2 separate regions of the Homo sapiens genome follow, and region 2 is linked to region 1. The links are contacts of gene promoters, found by promoter capture Hi-C in blood cells and fetal thymus (Javierre and others, 2016). All regions are on one chromosome and are shown on one strand. The core of a region is centred on a gene start or on the middle of the fragment in contact, and the rest is flanking DNA. Distances in the headings are between cores, read along the strand shown. Region 1 holds the start of SNRPG (small nuclear ribonucleoprotein polypeptide G). Region 2 holds the start of MCEE (methylmalonyl-CoA epimerase).

Region 1 (5,561 bases), core at 1,064-3,563:
GTTTGCTGTTTCCAGGCTGTGATATATTTTCCTAGTGGTTTGACTTTAAAAATAAATAAGGTTTAATTTTCTCCCCACTATTGAGTCTTCTTTCCTTATATCTGGGTGGTGAATATGTAACTTTCTCAGGATGCTTCTCCTTTTAACAGGTTAAATGAGTTAAAATGTCCAGAAGAGTGGAAATTAGTTGTTATGGTTCAGATGCAGAACTGGTTCACTGTAAATGGGAAAAACTTTGAGAGGAGACTAGGACATTGTGACTTGAAGTTCATTAATGTAGAAAAGAAACTGTCTATGAGGCTAAAAAGAGAAATTCATTATCTATGTCAGGTCTCTAGCTTCAACTAAACACTAATAGCAAGTGGTAGTAAAGGTACAAAGCTATGACCCTGCTAGAAAAAATTCAGTGTCTAGGATTTTGAGTACTAAGAGAGTGCAAAATATGTGATGAGTTTAAGTCTTTACTATCATTGATATTTATATAGAGCCATTCCAGAATATCAGGAATTAACTGAATTTTTGAGAACTATCCCCTATTTAAACACAAGGTATTCTATTTTGGTTTAGTCTTCTATAATTTTGGGGTAACAACTGGGAACAAGTCCGAGACCACTTTTTACACATCTTGACATGAAAAAAGAACACCTTATATTAGAAAATGTTTGTGTGCTGCACTTCACATTTTATATACAGGGGCAATAGCACATCAGTGAGTTCTGGAGGTAGTGTTTGAAAAATTTCAGAATTCCCAGGCATGCTGGCTAACCCCTGTAATCTCAGCACTTTGGGAGCCGGAGGCAGGCAGATCTCTTGAGGCCAGGAATTTGAGAACAGCCTGGGCAACAAAGCAAGACCTCGTCTCTACAAAAAAAAATTAGCTGGGTGCAGTGGCGTGCGCCTGTAGTCTCAACAACTCAGGAGGCTGAGGTGGAAGGATTGCTTGAGGCCAGGAGTTCGAGGTTGCAGTGAGCCATGATCACACCATGCTCCCCAGCCTAGGCGACAGAGCAAGAACTCATCTCAAAAAAAATTTTTTTTGCAAGACCCCTCAGTCAGAAATAGATTCAAATTCTTGGAGACAGACCCAGTCACCTTACTCTACAATGGTTCAGAGGCTGCTAATTTACATGTTACGGGAACCCTACTTGGTCTGACAGTATGCTGTAGGGTTACCTGCCAAAAAAATATAGAGGCCCAGCCGGGAGCGGGGGCTCACGCCTGTAATCCCAGCACTTTGGGAGGCCGAGGCCAGCGGATCACGAGGTCAGGAGATCAAGACCATCCTGGCTAACACAGTGAAATACGGTGTCTACTAAAAATACAAAAAATCAGCCCGGCGTGGTGGCGGGCACCTGTTGTCCCAGCTACTCGGGAGGCTGAGGCAGGAGAATGGCGTGAACCCGGGAGGCAGAGCTTGCAGTGAGCCGAGATCGCGCCACTGCACTCCAGCCTGGGCGACAGAGCAAGACTCCGTCTCAAAAAAATATACATATATAGAGAGAGGCCCATTCCTCCAGGGATCATTATCATTTGGTATATTGGTATATATGAAGAAAATAAGCGATACGATCCACAGACATGCGGGATTGGCCGGGTTTGCCCAGGAGCTAGAGACGGGACCGTTATCTCAATATCTCAATTTTATTTTTTAAATAGAGAAGGGGTCTCGCTATGTTGCACAGGCTGGTCTCGAACTCCTGGGCTCAAGAGATCCAAAGTTCTGGGATTTACGGCGCCCGGCTTTTTTTATTTATTTATTTATTTTTATTTATTTTGGCTGTTCCATAGACAAGAGCAGGGATAACCGGCTGGGCGCGGTAGCTCACGCCTGTAATCCTAGCACTTTGGGAGGCCGAGGCGGGCGGATAACGAGGTCAGGAGATCGAGACCATCCTGGCTAACACGGCGAAACCCCGTCTCTACTAAAAAATACACAAAATTAGCCGGGCATGGTGGCGGGCGCCTGTAGTCCCAGCTATTCGGGTGGCTGAGGCAGGAGAATGGCGTGAGGCCGGGAGGCGGAGCTTGCAGTGAGCCGAGATCGCGCCACTGCACTCCAGCCTGGGCGACAGAGCTAGACTCCGTCTCAAAAAGAAAAGAAAAAGAGCAGGGATACCCACCGGTGGAATACCCGTTATCTCAATTTTGTACAAGGAAAACGGAATTCAGAAAGGTGCCTAGAGGACGCACCCCTCCGTCCTGGCCAATCGCTGAGGACATAACCGGAAGCTCAACGATGACCGAGGCGCTGAGATATCGCGAGGTGAAATGTAAAAACTGCCAACAATCCATTGGCTAACGAGGTCGATGACGCCAGACGCAAGACGCCGGGCCTACAGCGGGAGCGTGAGGAAAGCCGTGCGTTGCGTTCCAAGGCATCTGTGAGCCCGCGGAGTATACACCATGAGCAAAGCTCACCCTCCCGAGTTGAAAAAGTAAGTATGTGTGAGAGCCAAACCGAAGTGGTCAGTTATTTGCGTCCTGCGAGTCCCTTGGTTCCCTCTCCGTTAGCCGAATGTCTTGAGCCGCTTCACTTCATTTCTTCTTCCGGTCCGAGGTCGCCGGGATCCCGGCCAGGCTCCCGCGCATGAGACGTGAAGCCCGCGCAGAGCTCGCGCGTCGGTGTGGTTACAGCCGGCAGCCACGGCACCTCCTTCCGGCCGACTAGTCTCCAGGTCCCGCGGTCTGGCCCCTGGTCACCCGGCGCTGTCCCTCGTTCCTTGAAGATCTCCAGTGCTACCTTTTGTTGAACATCTCGAATAGTATCATGTTCTAGATAGACGGCTAGAGGGGGAAATTCTCTGAAGGAACTAAGGAGGGGCTGGAAGGGAAGGAAGTGTTTTTAAAACTACGTGAGGCATCAGAATCCGAAAGCCACTTTAGTCTTAGCAAATGTGTTTGTAGGTGTTTGAGCTTTTACTTAGAAACCTCATTCCTTTTTCTTGCCTTCTTTTACGTTAAGCTTGAATGTCATGTGTTATCTTGCTCTGATGTTGAAACTATATAAGAACATTCATTTTTCTTTTTTTTTAAGAACATTAATTTTTTCTAGTCAGAGAAGGCTAATTTTTTGAAGTTTTTTCTACACACCCAGTAAAGTCAAACAACTTTAAGTAGGAGAGCCTTACTTTAGGTAGGACTCAACGTAAAGCTTTGAATTCCTCAAATACTTTTTGAGTGGACTTAACAGGTTATGTGTTTCCTGACTACGTTTCTGTTTTGCTTATACTTCCTGATGCTGGAATTCTACATGTATTAGTTGGATTGCACAAAGGATGCAAAATTTTTACAGGGATCAGTTTTTTCTGGCGTAGCATGTGGTTGGCTTTGTGTATAGTTAGTTCATTTATTACCAGGCCCATGGAAGTCAGACAAAAGGTAAAGTTCCTATTTAATAATTTTGCGGCCGGGCACAGTGGCTCACGCCTGTAATCCCAGCACTTTGGGAGGCTGAGGCGGGAGGATCACCTGAGGTCAGGAGTTCGAGACCAGCCTGGCCAACATGGTGAAACCCCCGTCTCTACTAAAAATACAAAAAATTAGCCAGGCAGGTGGTGTGCGCCTGTAGTCTCAGCTATTCCGGAGGTTGAGGCAGGAGAATCGCTTGAACCCGGGAAGCGGAGGTTGCAGTGAGTCAAGATCGCGCCATTGCCCTCCAGCCTGGGTAACAAGACCGAAACTCTGTTTCAAAAAATAATAATATTTTTGCATTTAAAGGTCCATTTGTATCAAAGCCATCTTTTGTATGAAAACTACTTCTATGTATATTTTAGTTAGGTCTGTTAAGGAATTAATTATTAAAACATAAGCCCAACGCGGTGGCTCACGCCTGTAATCCCAGCACTTTGGGAGGCCGAGGCGGGCGGATCACGAGGTCAGGAGATGGAGATCATCATGGCTAAAACGGTGAAACCCCGTGTCTATAAAAATACAAAAAATTACGTGGGCTTGGTGGCGGGCGCTTGTAGTCCCAGCTACTCGGGAGGCTGAGGCAGGAGAATGGCGTGAACCCGGGAGGCGGAGCTTGCAGTGAGCCGAGATCGCGCCACTGCACTCCAGCCTGGGCAACAGAGCGAGACTCCGTCTCAAAAAAAAAAAAAAAAATAGAAGTTACTCAGAAATTATTGTGAAAATTACTCTTTTTATCTGAAAGTTATTTTTGGTGATGTAAGTATCCTCTGGATTCATCAGGGACTGGTGAAATGGTGATTTTTTTTTTTTTAACAAAAAGACCATTCTCTACTTGTAATCTAAGATTTTCTTTCTGATTCATAACATAGTTTTTGAAAATTTCAGAGAAGGAAGCTAGTTTTAATACCTTTCTCTTCCTCGTAGGTTTCATGAATTGTGAAATCCGGTCAGATCTGCCGCCAAAATGACTTAAAAATTTTTTCTTCCTCTGCTTTCTCACAGATAGCATCTTCTTTTACACCATTATGCCCTCCTTCTGGTGTAGCATAACTCAGGTGTTCTTAAATGGGGAGTAGGGAATCTGGTGCTACCGGCTTCTAGTGAGTAGACACCAGGGTGCTGCTAAACATCCTACTGCTTATTCGACTGCCCCCAACAATACAAAATTAACTGGTCCCAAATGTCAGTAGTATAGAAGTTGAGATACACTGGCTTAACTGAATTCTTCCTTCCACTTCTTAAAATTTGCTGCCACGGTAGTCTTGCCAGTGACTGCTTTAATAATTTATCACAGTATGCAAAATCGAGTCTGTACTTAACCCAGCATTCAAGCACCAAACCTTCTAGCTGCTAATACTCAGGTATTCCGTTCTCCAGTCACACTGAACTATTTGTGTTTGCTCTCACTTGCTGTGTGACTTTGAAAAATTGCTTTAGCTTTTCCAAGCCTAGTTCTCCATCTGTAAAAACGGTGGAAATGATAGACCATAATTGCAAAGTCGTTGTAAAGATTGTATAAGATCTTGTGTGTTATATTTGATACGTTTTATGTATCTTATTAAAATATAGTTTACTTCATATATGTGTGTGTGTGTGTGTGTGTGTGTGTGTGTGTGTGTGTGTGTGTTTTGAGATGGAGTTTCACTCTTATTGCCCAGGCTGGAGTGCAGTGGCGCGATCTTGGCTCACCGCAACCTGTGCCTCCCGGGTTCAAGCGATTCTCCTGCCTCAGCCTCCCGAGTAGCTGGGATTACAAGCATGCACCAACACACCCGACTAATTTTTTTTTTTTTTTTTTTTTTTTTTTTTTTTTTTTTTAGTAGAGACGGGTTTTCTCCATGTTGATCAGGCTGGTCTCGAACTCCCGACCTCAGGTGATCCGCCCGCCTTGGCCTCCCAAAGTGCTGGGATTACAAGCATGAGCCACCGCGCCCAGCCCATAAATATATTTTTACTTGTAAATGTATCTACTCCCTCCTTCAGTCATGCTCCTTGTTTTATATTTACATTTTCCCATGATAATCCTATACATTAAAATTGAATAAGTGCCCCACTTCGTGGCCCATATACTAAACATCTTTTTTTCATTTTTTTATATTTTAAAATTTGAATGAAATTTTTAAAATTGAATGAAATTTTATGTTTTCTGG
Region 2 (5,561 bases), core at 868-3,367, 840 kb before region 1:
TGATGGGAGCCAAATTATGCATGGTTCAGGAGTAAGAATTTGTCATTTAAAGTGTAAAGAGAAAACATTTTAAGCAGAGGGATGAAATGATGATTTACACGAAGGAAGGAGAAAGGGACGAGGGAGGAGGAGGAAAGTACAGTGATTAGAAGGTTGATGCAGCATTCCAGCGAAAGGATAATGGTGATTTAGACTGGAGTTAGAGCAGTGAATATGCTGAGTATAGTTTGGAGGTAGAACTGACAGGATTGCTAAAGAATTAGATATAGAATAGAGAAAAATGAAGACATTAAAGTAGCAGCCTAGTTTTATGTTTGAGTACCTGAAAAGACAGAAGTGCCATTTACTGAGATAGGGAAGGCTTGGGTGGTGGTGTCAGGCCTCTGAGCTGAAGCTCAGCCATTGTAACCCCTGTGACCTGCACATATATGTCCAGATGGCCTGCAGGAGCCAAGAAGTCTGGGGCAGCCGAAAAACCACAAAAGAAATAAAACAGCCAGTTCCTGCCTTAATTGATTAATCAACATTACAACATTCCTCCATTGTGACTTGTCCCTGCCCTACCTTAACTGATCAATCGACCTTGTGACATTCTTCTTCTGGACAATAAGTCTTATGATCTCCCCACCATGTACCTTGTGACCCCGTCCTCCTCTGCTAATAGATAACCACCTTTTACTGTAATTTTCCATTACCTACCCAACTCCTATAAAGCAACCCCTTCCCCATCACCATTAGTTGACTCTCTTTTCGGACTCAGCCCACTTGCACCCAAGTGAATAAACAGCCTTGTGGCTCACACAAAGCCTGTTTTAGTGGTCTCTTCACACAGACGCGCTTGACAGGTGTAGCATGGGAAAAGGACTTCAGGGGATGGCAGAGTATAGGTGGGTAGAAACAACAATTCTATTAAACAGACACAACAGCTCTATTTTGGACGCAGTGAATTTGAGATGCTTGACAGTACCAAAATTTTAAAAATCGTTAAAAGTTGTACAGTGTGGATATCCCAGTTGTGTGCTACGGAATTCAAACTAAGCTCAGTCTGTAGTTGCTGTGAGCTGGGAACTCAGGGAAAGGTTGGGGTTTGAAACATAAATGAGTAATAATTTCATAGATCACATTTTAAATTCTTCAACAAAATACATATAAAACGCTTGTGTTGGGAAGAGACATGGAAGTTCTATTTCTGAAGAAGCTTAGTCATGGGGGGTGGACAGACAAGTGACAAGTTCGTACTTTCAATAAAGTATGCTAAGCGCTAAGTGCTTTGAGAGCACATAGGAGGAAGGAGAAACCAACAGTCTGTGTGTAGAGGGATGGGGGCGTAAGAAGCCCAAGGGAAGCTTCTAGGTGTTAACAATTGAGGTTAGAGTGATTTCAGTAACACTCAACTGAGAGATCCATCTATACAAATTTTAACAGTTTTTAAAATTTTGATAGCCTAGGAAAGCATAAACTCTGAAATTTGGGGAAAAGCGATTTTACGTTTCCCCTTACCTTCCCCCAGCTCCACAATTTGCCGGAGGCCTGCAACCCGCGTCCACGTGAGACCCCGGTCGCACCCCGAGCCCGGGATCTGCGCACTTACGTGAGGAAGCACTCGGGCCGACCCGTGGCTTTGCCGACTTCCGTCAGACACCGCTCCAGGGTCCGTCGACGCCAGACCTGCGGCGCCATGGCTGTCAGCAACTCCCGACACAATGCAGCATGCAAGGGAAGGGAGCCGCCCGGAAACCGCGCGGCAAAGATGCGCCCAGCGCAACTTGGATTTCAGAGCCGAAAGTTCCGCGGCGCACAGGTTCCGGACTCGCCCTCAGCCAGAGCCAATGGCAGCGCGAGCGCTTTCGCAGGAGGGTGGGAAACAAAAATCTCCATGGTCAGCCCAAACGCCTTTCAACTCTCTCCAAACTTCGTTTTGTATTTTTCAGGGGCCCACAAAGGGTGACCCGTCCTGGCCTTACGTTTCTGTTTTAGCTAAAGTAGGCCCGTTGTAGCAGGAAAGCAGCGACCTTCGCCACGCCCCTGACCTTTCTGTCCCCGCCCCCTCTGCCTCCCGCCCCGCCCTCTGCCGCGCGTCTCTCAACCTCCGTGGCTAGTCTTGACGTGGCGGGTTGCTTTCCAAAATGGCGCGGGTGCTGAAGGCTGCAGCCGCGAATGCCGTAGGTGAATACCGGGCACCGGCGACCTTCGCCATGGGACAGGGAGCGTGGGAACGGCGGTCGGGGGCGGAGGAGGCCTCGGCGTGGCCAAAGCACCTTGATCTAATGTCCTCCCCCGGGGGCGCGTTCCACAGCAGCTGCTGTCACTTAGGCAGAGGGTGCCTTCCAGAAGCGCCACCGCTTAGTAGCGGGGATTGCCTTGTGCATGAGTCCCATTTCCATCCGAGAGCTGTGCGCCTTGGGCTCTGCACCTTCCAGTATGTGGGCGGGAGAGTCGAGGGAACTTGCCCGGCAGGTCAGGCAGGGCAGGGACAGAAGTAAATAGAAGCGGATCGGTAAGTTATTTTACCGCGCACCAATAAAGAGACTGGGGAGAAACCAGAAAGGAGAGCACGTTCCGTAAAAACAACAACTACTAGTCGGCCGAACTCCAAGCGTGACCAGCTTTCTGTTGGGAACACTCAAAGGTCAGTGGTGTAAAGAATACAAAAGGAGTGGTTTTTCCACGTGCACTAATATATTTATCGCGTACACAGATAAAAGCATGTGGATTTGGAAACTTTCTTGAGTTCTCTCCCCCTTCATTTTTTTTAAAATATGTACATAGAATCAGTTATGACAGAAATAACTGTAATAATTGTCACGTTTTCTGACTCACTTTCTCCTCTTTTTATCCTTTTTTTTTTTCTCTTCCTCCTTTTATGAGAGGGCAAGTATTTCCCTTAATCTGAGATTCCCTATTAGGAAGAAGGTGCCAAGTGGTAATGCCCCAGAGTTACTCCGGGACATTCGTGATAAATCCTTCTAGCACCAGAGCCCACATTCTTAACCGTAAGGCATACCTTCCTCTTAGGTGATACACAAGATAGGAACGTAAAACTATAAATAAATGAATATTTGGGAAAAGGCATTTTTATGTCTATTTTTAGAACTGCACACTTTAATGATTGACAGTTTGGGAAAAAGTATGACTTCCAACAGGTCATATACATACTGCAAGAACTCAATACAGATAAAGGTGCATGTTTGTTTTGTACTTACATACACATCTTGGCATAAAGGAAAAATGAAGACAGTGTATTCCAAAGATTGCCTTTGATTTGTCCTATTAAGATACTTGAAGCTTAATGTCTCCACTTGTGTGTGTGTGTGTGTGGTTGAATATACATAAAGTAAAATTTACCTTTTTTTTTTTTTTTGAGACAGAGTCTCACTCTGTCGCCCAGGCTGGAGTGCAGTGGCGTTAGCTCACTGCAACCTCTGCCTCCCAGGTTCAAGCCATTCTTCCGCCTCAGCCTCCCGAGTAGCTGGGATTACAGGCACCCGGCACCACGCCCGGCTAATTTTTTGCATTTTTAGTGGAGACGAGATTTCACCATGTTGGCCAGGCTGGTTTGGAACTCCTGGCCTCAGGTGATCTGCCCACCTCGTCTTCCCAAAGTGCTGGGATTACAGGCGTGAGCCCGTCTCTACTAAAAATACAAAAATTAGCCGGGCGTGGTAGCACACGCCTGTTATCCCGGGTACTCGGGAGGCTGAGGCAGGATAATCGCTTGAACCCGGGAGGCGGAGGTTGGCGTGAGCCAAGATCGCGCCACTGCACTCCAGCCTGGGCAACCAAAGCGAAACTCCGTCTCAGAAAAAAAAAAAAAATTGCTTTTTAAGACTGAATAATATTCCATTGTGTGTGTATACCACATTTTGTTTATCCATTCGTCTCTTGATAGACATTTGGGTTATCCCCACCTTTTGGCTATTGTAATACAGCTATGAACGTGGGTGTACAAATACTTCTGAATTCCCGCTTCTTTGGGGGTGTGTATACTCATAAGTGGAATTGCTGGATTACATGGTAATTCTATGTTATGGCCCCTCTTTTAAGGAACATAAAACTTCGCCGAAAAACAAAAGCACAGAAAAATCAGAGTGAACACGTAGAAAAGTTCTGAAAATGGAAATTGAACCTGTTAGGTGGGAGACAAGAATGACCAACTTACATGACTGCATAGGTTTACTTTCATTAATCGTCTGTAAATGGGCTAACAGAAATGTAATCTGTTTACTTACTGTAATGAATAAAAAAAATTGATCATAGTTTGAAACAAGTTGAAGATATATATATGGTGCTGTGAAATTAACTGGTCAAATGTTTAAGAGAAAACTTACCAGACTAACTTGAAAGCACTTCTAATGAATGACTTTCTAAATACGTATGTTTCCTCAAACCAGATATTCAGTGAAAATTCAGACTTATGTTCGGCCAGGCGCGGTGACTCACGCCTGTAATCCCAGCACTTTGGGAGGCTGAGGAAGGTGGATCACCTGAGGTCAGGAGTTCAAGACCAGCCTGGCCAACATGGCAAAACCCATCTCTACTAAAAATACAAAAATTAACCGGGCGTGGTGGCGCGCTCCTGTAATCCCGGCTACTCCGGAGGCTGAGGCAGGAGAATTGCTTGAACCTGGGAAGCAGAGGTTGCACTGAGCCAAGATTGCGCCATTGCACTCCAGCCTGGGCTACAGAGCCAGACTCGTTTCAAAAAAACAAACAAACTTATTACGTGTTCTAAAATTAGATTATGTGAAGGTCGCACAACTTTGCAAAGATGCAAAGAAATGAATTGTACACTTCAAATGGGTGAACTTTATGGTATATAAATTTTAAGTCTGTTTAAAAACTATTAAGAGATAAAGCTGTTAAAAAACCTATTACAAGTGATTATTCACTTTTATAGTACTTTTTATACAAATTTAACATCTAATGTCTTTAAATAGTAAGTACTCTTAATGCATTTGAGTATAGATCCTTGCAGCTAAACCTTTATGTATTCAGGGACAGTGTCTAAAAAGTGTGATCTGAAATAAATGCAAAATCTGAACTGAAAGAAATGCAATGTTGTTTTTAAGTCAGGACACTAAAAGTGATTAACGAGAATTGATATTGAAAGGAAGATTGGAATGAGAGTTAACATACACATCCGATTTTGATCTTTTACTTGTATACCAGCTTCCTGACATGTGAAAATAGTTTCTTTAATCTGTATTCATCTTTACATGCGTTTTTTATTAACACTTCTGTTTTTAAATATCTTATGCATTTATTTGCACATGGTTTTACACTGTAGTATATTCATGCAAAGCAACCTTTATTGGAATAATCACAAATTAAACATTGCAGAATTCAAAATAATGCAATTCTGCTGCACTATTCTGAAATGGGAGGCAGAGAAATCTAAAACTAAAGAGCTGTGAATTCCTGCTAGTTGGAGGGCAACCTGAAATAAAAATAGCTTTAAAAAGGTAGCTTCAGTGTTGGTAATCATTTTCATAATTTATGCATTTATTAAAACATCACATTGTATACCTTAAAGATACACCGTTTCTATTAGTCATCATACC

Evidence for each region. The method cuts DNA at HindIII sites, captures the fragments that hold promoters and counts their contacts. A CHiCAGO score of 5 or more calls a contact.
Region 2: the fragment with the promoter of MCEE here is called in contact with the fragment with the promoter of SNRPG in region 1 in 1 of 17 cell types (total B cells); the score reaches 5.6 in total B cells.

Annotation. Positions count from the first base shown.
Region 1 is chr2:70,290,492-70,296,052 of GRCh38, reverse strand. SNRPG (small nuclear ribonucleoprotein polypeptide G) reads left to right here and starts at 2,313. Exons shown (of 4, transcript NM_003096.4): 1 at 2,313-2,435. The coding sequence starts at 2,404. It overlaps LOC124906023 (a long non-coding RNA gene), which reads right to left and starts at 2,151. Exons shown (of 2, transcript XR_007086880.1): 1 at 2,121-2,151; 2 at 39-995. FAM136A (family with sequence similarity 136 member A) reads left to right here. Exons shown (of 3, transcript NM_001329752.2): 3 at 1-77. RefSeq lists enhancers at 2,152-2,631, 2,648-3,555. The HindIII fragment of the contact is 8,673 bases long and covers 1-2,964 here.
Region 2 is chr2:71,126,785-71,132,345 of GRCh38, reverse strand. It overlaps MCEE (methylmalonyl-CoA epimerase), which reads left to right and starts at 2,117. Exons shown (of 3, transcript NM_032601.4): 1 at 2,117-2,166. The coding sequence starts at 2,127. MPHOSPH10 (M-phase phosphoprotein 10) reads right to left here and starts at 1,712. Exons shown (of 11, transcript NM_005791.3): 1 at 1,592-1,712. The coding sequence starts at 1,680. RefSeq lists enhancers at 1,515-1,564, 1,665-1,714, 2,036-2,894. The HindIII fragment of the contact is 1,939 bases long and covers 1,349-3,287 here.